Linked DNA regions of Homo sapiens: region 1 is linked to region 2. Evidence: promoter capture Hi-C in 16 types of primary human blood cells and fetal thymus (Javierre and others, 2016). All regions are on one chromosome and are shown on one strand. The core of a region is centred on a gene start or on the middle of the fragment in contact, and the rest is flanking DNA. Distances in the headings are between cores, read along the strand shown.

Region 1 (6,094 bases), core at 1,146-3,645, 250 kb before region 2:
GATGCCTAGGTAAGTGCTAAGATTCTACTCTGGAAGGATTTCCTGTTTGGGAAAATGGTGAGAATCTAGCATTAAAATGCAAATTAGCTCCCCATTCCCTAACTAGTGAATAGTAGACAAACGGCTCCTGGATGGCATTCCCTAATGGCTGACAGTCCCTCATCATCTTCTCAGTGACTGACAGCCAGCCAGCTCCTGGGCCGCTGCTAAGGCCCTGGGCCATGTGACTCCCACGGGCAGGGATGCATGTATTATTTTCCTATTGCTGCTGAAACAAATTACCCTGCATTTAGAGGCTTAACAGCACATACATTTGTTATCTGTTTCTGTAGGTCAAAGGGCTGGGCACAGTGTGGCTCAGTGGGTTCTCTGCTTGGAGTCACAGAGAGCCTAAATTAAGGTGTCATCGCGGCTGTGTCCCTTTCTGGAGGCTCTGCGGCTGAATCAACTCGCAGTCTCATTCAGATTACAGGCAGATGTAGTTCCAGAGTGCTGTCGGACTGAGGTCCCTGGGTGGCTGAATTGCCTTGTGATGCCCAGGGGCTATTACCATCTTCCAAGGATGACCAATGGCGGGGAACAGGTCTCCTCCCCACAATGGTGGGTTGAGTTCCTTCTCTTTCAATCTCTCTTAGCTCCTCTCCTGGCTTCTTCGGCTGCTTTTAAGGGCTCATATGATTATGCTGGACCTACCCAGATAATCCAGAACTATCTCCCTATGTTAAGGTCAGCTCATTAGCAACCTCAGTCCTATCTGCAAAGTCCCTTGCAGGAAGTTCCTAGATTTGTGTCTGGCTAACCAGTGGGCAGAGGTTTTGGGAGCATCCTGAGAATTCTGTCTACTACAGACACACCTTCCAGACCTTTTGCCGGGAAGCTGCCCAGCACCACGGGTCCCTGTGGTCCACGGCGCATCTCCCCCCAGTGCCCACACAGCCTGGCCCCTGGGGCGCTGGGCACTCCCGCCCCTCCCCTCCCACCTGAGGACACAGGCCAGCTCCCCTGCATCTTCTGCACGCTGCGGGGTACGTGGCCAAGCCCCTGGGACTGGGAAGACTAGGGCAGCCTGGGAAGCATCTCCAGGGTCCCAGCTTTTCTTAACATATAGAAATCTCACTCACAGATCTCAGATGCAAGTAAATGACCCCCAGAGGCGCACTTCAACACAGAACAGGACTGGGCAGTCTCCCATGTCAGGAGAAAGCTGGGACTTGGAGCCCCATGGGAGCCTGAGGACGGCAGGGAGTGGCTGTTGTGGGAGGGCCCTGCTGCTGGAGGGCAGCCCTGTGTGGGACACCCCATGTCATCGGTAGCTCACCGGGGAGGGCTTACCCTGGCTGCACTTCCCGATTTCTACCTGGATGTGAGGAATGAGGCCGAGCCCTCTTCAGGCTGCTGCTGTGTCCCTCACAGGACACAGTCAAGTCAGCTCTGCCCCCAGAGCGTGACAGATATCAGCCCACTGCTGACTGCGGATGGCTTCCAGCCCCATCCTCTTCCTCTCTTGCCCCATAACTGCAAAATCAATGCAAACCCCAGGCGAGGGGTGGCAGGACTCTCACCCTGGCTCCCTCCTCACCACCATACAGCCCTCAGCCATACTCAGCCACCCAGGGCCCCCTTTGCTGCAGCTGTTCCAGCTGGGCTGCAGTCTGCCCTGCTCTCACAGAAAGCCCCAGGGCACCAACCACAAGCTTTCCCCACCCTCCTGGTGTGTGTGTGGTGTTATCCTTCTCCACATCCAAACCAAACTTTGGAGGAGGGAATGGGGTTGCTCCTGTACCTGCCATGGGGCAGCCACAAAGCCACCTGCAAGCTATTTGCCCACACCAGACACTGGAGTAAATAAAACAGCAGAGATGTGGTTGCCAGAAGGGTTCAGCCAAAGTGTGTTGTGTCCCCAGGGCAGACTATTCTTCATCCTCTCCATCATTCACAGAGATCTGGACCTGAGTTCTGTGAGGCCGGGGTGGGACAGAGACACCACACCCTAGAAAGAGGGCTGAGGATGGCAGGCGCTCACGGCCGGGTCAGGCCTGGAAGGACCATCGAGGCCGGGCTGTGTGACAAGGAGGGCCGCACTCTGCCACCAAGTGGGCTTGGCCACCCATTCACCTCCCAGTGGCTGTCTCCTTACTTTGAGGAAAAGACAATTAGGGAGTGAAATACTTCCGAATGTGGTTTAAAAAACAGAGAGGGCTGGGTGCGGTGGCTCACGCCTGTAATCCCAGCACTTTGGGAGGCCAAGGCAGGGGGATCATGAAGTCAGGTGATTGAGACCATCCTGGCTAACACGGTTAAACCCCGTCTCTACTAAAAATACAAAAAATTAGACAAGCATGGTGGCGGGGGCCTGTAGTCCCAGCTACTCGGGAAGCTGAGGCAGGAGAATGGCATGAACCCTGGAGGTGGAGCTTGCAGTGAGTCGAGATCGTGCCATTGCACTCCAGCCCGAGCGACAGAGTGAGACTCCGTCTCAAAAAAACCCCAAAACAAAACAAAACACACCAACTAACAGAGATTCCTTGATTCCATAGGCATATGGAAGGCCTGCACCACACTGGCCCAGCTTCCTCCCTTTCTTATCTTTCCCAGAGGTGGGTCTGGTGTCCCCAGGGTGTGCAGGGGCTCTATGTAGGGAGTGAAGATCCTCCTATCCCCATCTCTCCCAACCAAAGATGCTCCTTTGGCTGCTGAAGGCTTAGGATTTTTTTAAAAGTCCTGTTTCGGTGAAAACTTGTGAAGGGTCCCTGTATAAATATTTCCAGGTCGTTATTACCCAGTTACCCTAGTTAAGTTCTTTCTAATTAAGCCCATCGATTTCAGAAAAGCCTACTTCCCAGAAGACTGATCTGAAGTCATTAGCTGACTGACATATCTAGGCTATGTTGTCAGATGTCATCTTTGCCCTGGCATTTCTGCATTTCAGGCTCGGTCTAGCAACTGCCATCACATACTATCCAAAGCAAGGCAGACTAAATGAGAGATCAGAAAGGATTATCCCTATCTTAACAGGAGTGTCACTCAGGCTGACCTCACGTACTGCGGGGCCATCTTCTTCCTCATTGACAGGCAAGTATGGACAGAGAAGCTTCCAGATTTTCACCCACCTGTCCACAGGCAACTCAGCCTGGTGCATCTAGGGACCCAGTGAATTGTGCCTTCCCATCAACTGGTGCTTACTAAGGGTCTCTGCCTTGGCCAGAACTCTGCTTAAAGAAGCTTCAGGGAATACTGCAGAAATGACGAGAGATGCGTGTCACGATCAAGAAGGAAGAAACTGGAATCCACTGAGTGGTCATCATGTGCCAGGAGCATTCATGTAGATCATTTCACTTCATACAGAAACAGTGTGGAACAGGAATGGCCATTGTTTTATAAATCAGGAACTGAGGTGCAGAGGGGGTGTGTCTTACGGCATGACCTGGACCTCTGGGTACAGAGTGCGTGCGGGATGGTCCTCCATTCCCCTGGCCTCGTCATGGCTCAGTGCTTTAGAGAGTTGATGCCTGAGGTAGAACAGCGAATGCCCCATCGTCAAGGTCACTGTTACTAACGCTGTTCATACCAGAGGCACTGCGGGACCTCCCAGAGCAGGGATCTTTGCTTGTTGCCCTCTTGTCCGAACAGTCCCTATCCTAGTGTCTTGCACAAAGTTGGGGTGCAAAAATATCTATTCAGCAAATGTAGTAATTAAAAGCCATCCCTGTTTATTCATTAAAACAGTTCCCTTTAGGTGACTACTTACAAAACCATAGGGCTAGGGTGCTCATTCTATGAACTCAGAAGTGTAAACCAACAATGTTGAAAAACTAATATAGGAAGCCGACCAACAGTTCATTCAGACTGTCCGTTCCAGCAGCGGAGGCTGATTTTACAAAGAGCAGTGAGCTCTCCTTCACCCCCAGCCCCCACAACCCTTTTTTTTTTTTTTTTTTTTTTTTTTTTTTTTGAGACGGAGTCTCGCTCTGTCGCCCAGGCTGGAGTGCAGTGGTGCGATCTCGGCTCACTGCAAGCTCCGCCTCCCGGGTTCACGACATTCTCCTGCTTCAGCCTCTGAAGTAGCTAGGACTACAGGTGCCTGCCAACACGCCCAGCTAATTTTTTGTATTTTTAGTAGAGATGGGGTTTCACTGTGTTAGCCAGGACGGTCTCGATCTCCTGACCTCGTGATCCGCCCGCCTCGGCCTCCCAAAGTGCTGGAATTACAGGCGTGAGCCACTACGCCCAGCTAATTTTTTTGTATTTTTAGTAGATGGGGTTTCACCGTGTTAGCCAGGATGGTCTCGATCTCCTGACCTCGTGATCTGCCTGCCTCGGCCTCCCAAAGTGCTGGGATTACAGGCATGAGCCACCGCGCCCGGCCCCTCACAGCTTTTTAAGTGTCTAATTCCAGGAGTAAAGAGATTAGCTACATATTAATCTTTTCAAAAATTATTTTGAGCATTAAAGCTTTTAAATTTTTAAACATTTTAAAGTCGGCAAGCTCCATGAAGACAGGGCATTGCGTGCACCTTGTTTACCACTGTACTCCAAGCATCCAGAACAGAGCCCTGCAGCCAGTAGATTCTCAGTAAGTATTTGTTCAATAAACGTAAACTAAACATACAAAAAAGTACAGAAAATAGAAAAGAAAGTATTCCGACGTAGCCATCCCAGAGATTAAACAAATGCCAGCATTTTGGCATATTTATTGCTTATCTCCCAAAATATTACCAGTGGAGCTGAAGCCTTGCCCCTCATGTTACCTCCCTAGCTTCCTCTCCAGAGGCAAATCTCTGTGCTTAAATTGTTCTGTACTATTCTCATGCATTTTCTATAATCTTACTAAATATGCACATATCCTAAGGTGTACTGTTATGTACTATTATTTGTGTCTTGTAGATTTACACAAATATGATCGTCCTACATGTATCCTTCTGAAGTCTGCCGTTTCCATGTTTCTTGGGTATAACCTCGAAGCCTCAGCACACAGCTGCCTGCTATGCATACATGGAAGAGTTTATCTAGGATACATAGAGAATCATGTTCGACTTTACTAGATACTGCCAAACTAACCTCTGAAGTATCTGTATAAATTTACATTTACTCACCATTTATAAGAATTCTGGACCCTGTACATCCTCACCAATACTTGGCATTCACACAACGCATCTGCCAATGTGAAGGGTATGGAATGGTTTCTCTTGTTGCTTCTCGATTGGCAGTTAGGTTGAACATTTGTTCACATATTCATTGATTATTCAGGTTCCTCTTCTAAGAACTGCCCATTTGCATCACATGCCCAGTGTTATGTTATCCGTCTTCCCGTTATCCATCTTCAGCTCTTTCTGTTTTTTTTTTTTTTTTTTTTTTTTTTGAGACACAGTCTCACTCTGTCGCCCAGGCTGGAGTGCAGTGGTGCAATCTCAGCTCACTGCAACTTCCGCCTCCTAGGTTCAAGATATTCTCTTGCCTCAGCCTCCCGAGTAGCTGGGATTACAGGCATGCACTGCCACGCCCGGCTAAAGTTTGTATTTTTGTAGAGATGGGGTTTCGTCATGTTGGCAAGGCTGGTCTCATACTCCTGACCCCAAGTGAGCCACCGCCTCAGCCTCCCAAAGTGCTGGGATCACAGGTGTGAGCCACTGTGCCTGGCCCCATCTTCAGTTCTTAATATGTTCTTTACATCAATCCTTTGTCACTCGTAAGATATTTTAAATATATTTCCTAGTCTGTGACTTAGTCTACTAAGTCCGCCACTACTCCCCAGTCTGTGAGAAGGCACACTGTTTGGAAAATTTTTTGAAGCACAGGTTTACATTTTAATGTTATCAAATTTATTAATCTTTTCCTTTATAATAGGCTTTTTTTTGGCTTTGCCTTTCTCTACTTATTTTAAAGCTTATATATTTTAAGGTTTATACATTTCCCTTGAATTATGACTGTGGCTTGCTTCAGTTTCTCATTCAATTCTAAATCTGAAAACCTAGATAAAATACGTCAACTCCTAAAAATGTACACATAATGGTAAAATTGGCATAAGAGAAAATCTGAGTGAACAAAGACTTAAGAAATTAAAATGGTAGTTAAAAAAAGAAAAACCCTTCCCTTC
Region 2 (6,006 bases), core at 1,005-3,504:
TCTCTAAGACGAACTTGCAAGTTCCATGGGAACAGGGACCACACAATGTATTTACTTAATTAATTCTGTTACAGGGATGTGATATTTAAACCAAACTTAAAAGACAGAAGAGGACAGCCAGGCAAAAGACATTGGACACATATTCCAGGCAGAGAGAACACCCTTCAGAAAGGCCCCGAGGAGCAAGAGAAGTAGAATATTTAAGGATCTGAAAGCAGCTCAAGTGACCAGAGCAGCAAGCCAGAGGGATGAGGCCTGGAGATGGGCTGTACACACCACACCCGGCCTGAGGTCTCAGCGAGGGCCGTGCTTTTATCTGCAAGCCACAGGGAGCCAACCTTCCAGGGCAAGTGACGGGCCAATTCTCACTTTCAAAGATGCAGGTGAAAATGGACAGCGGAGACACAGAGGCGAGTTAGGAGCCCAAGCAGGGTTTAGGGGAGAGAAGGTGGTGGCAGAGACTCCTCTGTCTGTGCACCTCCCATCACAGTGTTTTACACGGCACACACAGACATGGATTTATTGCAAATTGGGCAAATGAAGTTATTCTACTGGTTGCTTTTCTACATGACCAACTCAGGCTTAGCTGCCCAGCTTTTTCTTTTTCCTTTGAGAAGGTAATTCCGTGGCTTTTTTTTTCCTTTCTTAACCTGAAAGTGTCCCGGTGTTTGATTTCATGGAGCAAAATAAAAACCCTGGAGGAATACACATGCCACAGAAACGCCTTGAGACAAAAAAACGTTTGGCTAATAGTTTTGGTATTTTCTATGCCTTCCCCGGTATGCAGGAAAGTCACAGCAGTGTGATACAAAGGAGTGTATGGTGATAAAAAAGCGCAGGCCCAGGGACCTCTGGAAACTGGGCTGGCGGTAGAGCTATGGGGCAATAGCGTTCTCAGTAGTAGGCTGCCTTGTCATGGGAGGGCTGGAGTGAGGGCCACTGTGCGGAGGGAAAGCGACCGTGCTCTGGGGTGGGGGTGGGAATGGGGAATAAAACAGAAATAGAATCTGCGGTGAGAGCACCACCAAGCCACCCAACCCCCACACTGGGGAGACAAAGGGCCCTCTGGGGAGGGAAGGTCCTGGCCCACCTCCTTGGAGGGCGCCTCTGGGCGGTCCTGGCCTGCCCAGGGGCAAGGAGATGGGCCTCACAGCGATATTGGCTCTCCCTCAGCTCCTGCATCCGCCGGCGGAGGGTTTCTCCGCTTCCCTAGCCCAGACCTAAAAGGGTCACCGCTCCCAGGCCCCTGACTGCGCCGGGAACCGCTGGGTGGAGGGTGTCGACCCTGCTTCCTGCCCTCAGCCCGTCCATCGCGCCAGAGAATGCACCAAATTCCCCAATCCTTGCCCTCCCCGGGGGTCCACATCCGCGGGGCAGGACCAACGCAGCCTCTCGGGGCCTTGGCGACTTACCGCTGGGGGCCCGCAGTGCAGCAGGGCGCGGCCGCGACAGGCTCGGGCACCGCGTCGGAGCGCGAGCCGCGCTCAGCACCACGGTCAGCTCCCGGCGCCGCGCGCCGCGGCCGGGAGGGGGAGGCCCGGCGCCCGCACCCACCCACCGCGGCTCCAGGGGCCCCGCGGGGTCGGGCAGGCGAGGGTTAAGCCGCCAGAGGCCAGCGGGAGGGGCGGGCCGGCGCTGGCGCGCAGGGGTGGCGAGGGGGCGCGCCGGCCGCGGTGGGGGCTGCTCCGCCAGGCTGCCGCCTCCCTGCGCCGCCGCTCGGGCCGCGCTCGAGCCGGCTTTGTCTGTTCGTATCGCCCCGTCTCTGTTTCTGGGTGTCTCTGCCTCCCACCCGGTTGCGGCTGCGCCTCCCTCAGGTGCAGTCGTCTCCCCTCGCCCCCGTGCGCACGGCGCCCCCGCCGCTGTCCCCTCTTCCGGGAGCGCACAGGTGTGGGAGCCCCTCCCCCTCAGCCCAGAGAGCCAGCCCAGCCCTGCCGACCGCAGCACTCTCGGAAGGGCTCGGCCACCCGGAGCCTCGTCACGAGTCTTACCCAGGGTTCGGAGCGGGCCTGCAAGAAGGGGCAGGCCAGGCTGGGGCTGCAAGGCAGGGTCTTCCCTTGGAGAAGGGACCTGACTCTATTATTAAGAGAACGAAAGAGGCACTTGCCCTACAGGTACTCACTGTGTGGGGTCTACTGGTGCTGTGCTCTGCCGCAGTCTTGAGGGAGGAGCAGAAATGCTGTGGGGACTCTGTCTCCGCAGAACTGAGGACGAGGGGTCTGCACGCGTGGTTCAGTGCCTGGGGCTGGGGTGGATTAAGTAACTCCAGGAAGGCTCAGGCAGCAGTGCCAGTAGTGTGGGGCGGGGTTGTGGGGAGGAGGGGGGAGCGGGAGCGCACAGTCGGTGCTGGGGAGAGGCTGATGCCAACAGGAGGCTCTCGGCCGTGGTGTGCCCAGGCGGGGCAGGACGGGAGGATGCAGGAGTCCCGGGTCCACGCTGAGGCTAAGGCTGAAGGGAAGGCAGAGCTCAGGTGGATGACGGAGGCCAGGCCTTTCCCTGAGCTTGGTGGGCTCCCTCCCGGTCACCTTGTCTGAGAACCCAGGACACAGAGTCCCCTTGCTTTGGACTGGTTTGGTTTGTCATTCCCCTTGACATCGCCTCGCCCCAGAGACAAGAGGCCCCTTCATCCTCCAGCCAAGACCTTCCCCACCCTTGGGTGACCTACCCTCTTGCATTTTTTAGATTTGAGCCCTCTTTCTATGCAGCGACTAACTCAACGTGACCCCAGAGGCCCCCTCGCCCATGTTGCTGGTAGTCTTGACCTTTTTTGGCAGATCCTGGCTGTGGGAGTTCCCTGTCTTTCTCTTAGGTAGGACAGAAGGCAGTTTCTGCCTCGTTGCCACATACACCCCAAGTCAGGGGTAGGACTCCCGCAGACCCCACAGTCCTCCTCTTGTTAAAATTAGTAAGCATTAGCCTTCCTTATTAGGCTCTCCCCGCTTTTGCATTTAAGGATTTTTTAATGTGTCTTATAAAATCATGTAATTGTGAGGATAATTACAGATTCAGCTTCTTCCAGTGAGTGACAATTGCTCATTTTCGATGCTCACATGGTCATCGTTCGGCCACTGCAAACTGTTCCAACCCTTCTACTTTGTCATTTCAGACAGTTTTCAAACACCCCTAACTTTTGGGTAACATGAAAATATATATTTCAAATTTTTTATTTCCCCAAGATGTGGGATCAGGTCTTCCCCAGGGACTCCTGGAAAAATCTTTTACACTAGGCTACCCAGTTCAGATACCACTGAATGATTTTTCTTAAATATTATTCTAATGTGAACTTACATTTTATTTTTACAATACACTGACTTACACGCCTGTAATCCCAGCACTTTGGGAGGTCCAGACGGGCGGATCACAAGGTCAGGAGATCAAGACCATCCTGGCTAACATGGCAAAACCCCCTCTCTACTAAAAGTACAAAAAAAATTAGCCAGGCATGGTGGTGGGCGCCTGTAGTCCCAGCTACTCAGGAGGCTGAGGCAGGAGAATGGCGTGAACCCAGGAGGTGGAGCTTGCAGTGAGCCGAGATTGTGCCACTGCACTCCAGCCTGGGTGACAGAGCGAGACTCTGTCTCAAAAAAAAAAAAAAAACAAACAAAAAAACACACACAAAACACTGACTTAGATTTCTCATCTGTGTTTTTGAGCAGTGGCTGTAAACCTTTTCTTTCCTGGAACTAGCTTTCTGGTCACTTGGTTGTCCCCAGGGTCTCAGACCTTCTGGCCACACCACCCCTTGCTTTCTTGGCAGGCCAAAGAGTTGACTGTGGGCACAAATGAGTCGGCCATCCACTGTGCCAGTCACGTCAGCTGCATTTGTGGGGTACCATCAGACCTACTGCTTTGAGCTGTTTCTTTTTCTTTTAAAATTTTCAATATTTAAAAACTTTTTTATTTCATATTTCCAAACAGTGAACAGTTGGTTTCTTTTTCTTAAAAAAATTTTTATCTTATTTTTTGAGATGGAGTTTCACTCTTCTTGCCCAGGCTGGAGTTCAATGGTGTGATCTTGGCTCACTGCAACCTCCACCTCCCGGGTTCAAGTGATTCTCCTGCCTCAGCCTCCTGAGTAGCTGGGATTACAGGCATGCAGCACCACGCCTGGCTAATTTTGTATTTTTAGTAAAGACAGGGTTTCTCCATGTTGGTCAGGCTGGCCTCAAACTCCCAATCTCAGGTGATCTGCCCTCCTCGCCTCCCAAAGTGCTGGGATTACAGGCGTGAGCCACCACGCCCGGCCGGTTTCTTTTTCTTTATTGTGGTAAAATATACATAATATGAAATTTACCATTTACCCCTTTTTAAGTGTACAGTTCAGTGGCATTTACACTCACACTGTTGTGCAACCATCACCACAGTCTATTGCCAAAACACGTTCCTGACCCCAACAGAAATTCTGTACCCATTAAGCACTAAAACTCCATTCTCCTCTCCCCGTAGCTGCTGGGAACCACTATTCTACTTTTCTCTGATTTTGACCACTCTAGGTACCTCATAGAAGTGGAATCATACAGTATCTGTCTTTTTGTGGCTGGCTTATTTCACTTAGCATAATGTTTTGAGGGTGTATCCGTGTTGCAGCATGTATCAGAATATCCTTCCTTTTTAAGAGTGGATATTATTCCATTGTGTGTAGAGACCACATTTTGTTTATCCATTCATCTGTCAATGGACCGTTTGGGTTGCACCACCTTTGGCTATTGTGAATAATGCTATTATAAGCAGCAATGTACAAATACCTGTTTAGGTTCCTGCTTTTGGTTCTTTGGAATATAAACCACAGAAGTGCCATATTGGAGTCATAATGGTTTCTATGTTTAATTTTCTGAGGAACTATCATACTGTTCTCCACTGTGTACAATTTGACATCCCACCAGCAATGTAGAGCATTTTTCCATATCCTCGCCAACATGTTGTTTTCTGTGTGTTTTTGTTTGTTTGTTATTTGTTTATAAATAGTAGCCATCCATTAGGATGGCTGTGAAGTCGTATATCATTGTGGTTTTGATTTGTATTTTCCTAATGATTAGTGATATTGAGCATCTTTTCATATGCTTATTGGCCATTTGTATATATTCTTTGGAGAAGTATCTATTCAAGTCCTTTCTCCATTTTTAATTAGATTGTTTGTCTTTATTGTTGAGTTCTAGGAGTTGTTTATATATTCTGGATGTTAATCCCCTACCCAGTAGATGATTTGCAAATATTTTTTCTCATTCTGTGGATTGCCTTGTCACTCTTGATGAGTGGTTTTCATTAATTTTGATAAAGTCCAGGTTATTTATTTTGTGTATTATTTCTTGAACTTTTGGTGTCATATCAAATAAATCATTGCAAAATCCAATGTCACAAAGATTTTCTAGGTTTTCTTGTAAAAGTTTTATACTTTTAGCTCTTCGATCAATTTTTAGTTAATTTTTGTATATGGCAGAAGGTAAGAGTCCAGTTTCATTTTTTGATGTGACTATTCAGTTTTCCCAGCATAATTTGTTGAAAAGACTGTCCTTTCTCCATTGAATGGTCTTGGCATCCTTGTTGAAAATCATTTGACTAAATACCTGAGGATTTGTTTCTGGGCTCTCTATCCTATTTTATCGGTCTGTATGTCTGTCTTTGTACCACACTGTTTCGATTACTGTAGCTTTGTCCCAGTCTACTTTTGTAAGCATTCAAACCCATTTATTTATTTATTTATTTATTTATTTATTTATTTAAGATGGAGTCTCGCTCTGTCACCCAGGCTGGAGTGCAGTGGTGCAGTCTCGGCTCACTGCCAGCTCCGCCTCCCTGTTTCACGCCATTCTCCTGCCTCAGCCTCCCGAGTAGCTGGGATTACAGGTGCCCGCCACTTGTATTTTTAGTAGAGATGGGGTTTTCACTGAGTTAGCCAAGATGATCTCGAGCTCTTGACCTCGTGATCCGCCTGCCTCGGCCTCCCAAAGTGCTGGGATTACAGGTGTGAGCCACTGCACCGGGCCCTAACCCTTTTATTTTAAAATTTTA

The links. Contacts are between HindIII fragments. The CHiCAGO score rates a contact against its expected background, and 5 or more counts as called.
Region 1: a fragment that was not itself captured here is called in contact with the fragment with the promoter of AMER3 in region 2 in 1 of 17 cell types (erythroblasts); the score reaches 5.6 in erythroblasts.

The regions. Positions count from the first base shown.
Region 1 is chr2:131,000,568-131,006,661 of GRCh38, reverse strand. The region is part of intron 4 of ARHGEF4 (Rho guanine nucleotide exchange factor 4); the gene reads right to left. Among named protein-coding and RNA genes, the nearest start is that of SMIM39, 31 kb to the left of the region's middle. The HindIII fragment of the contact is 1,397 bases long and covers 1,697-3,093 here.
Region 2 is chr2:130,751,788-130,757,793 of GRCh38, reverse strand. It overlaps AMER3 (APC membrane recruitment protein 3), which reads right to left and starts at 2,254. Exons shown (of 2, transcript NM_152698.3): 1 at 2,120-2,254. LOC124907890 (a long non-coding RNA gene) reads left to right here and starts at 1,912. Exons shown (of 2, transcript XR_007087239.1): 1 at 1,912-2,111. RefSeq lists enhancers at 597-1,100, 1,979-2,478. The HindIII fragment of the contact is 12,260 bases long and covers 1-6,006 here.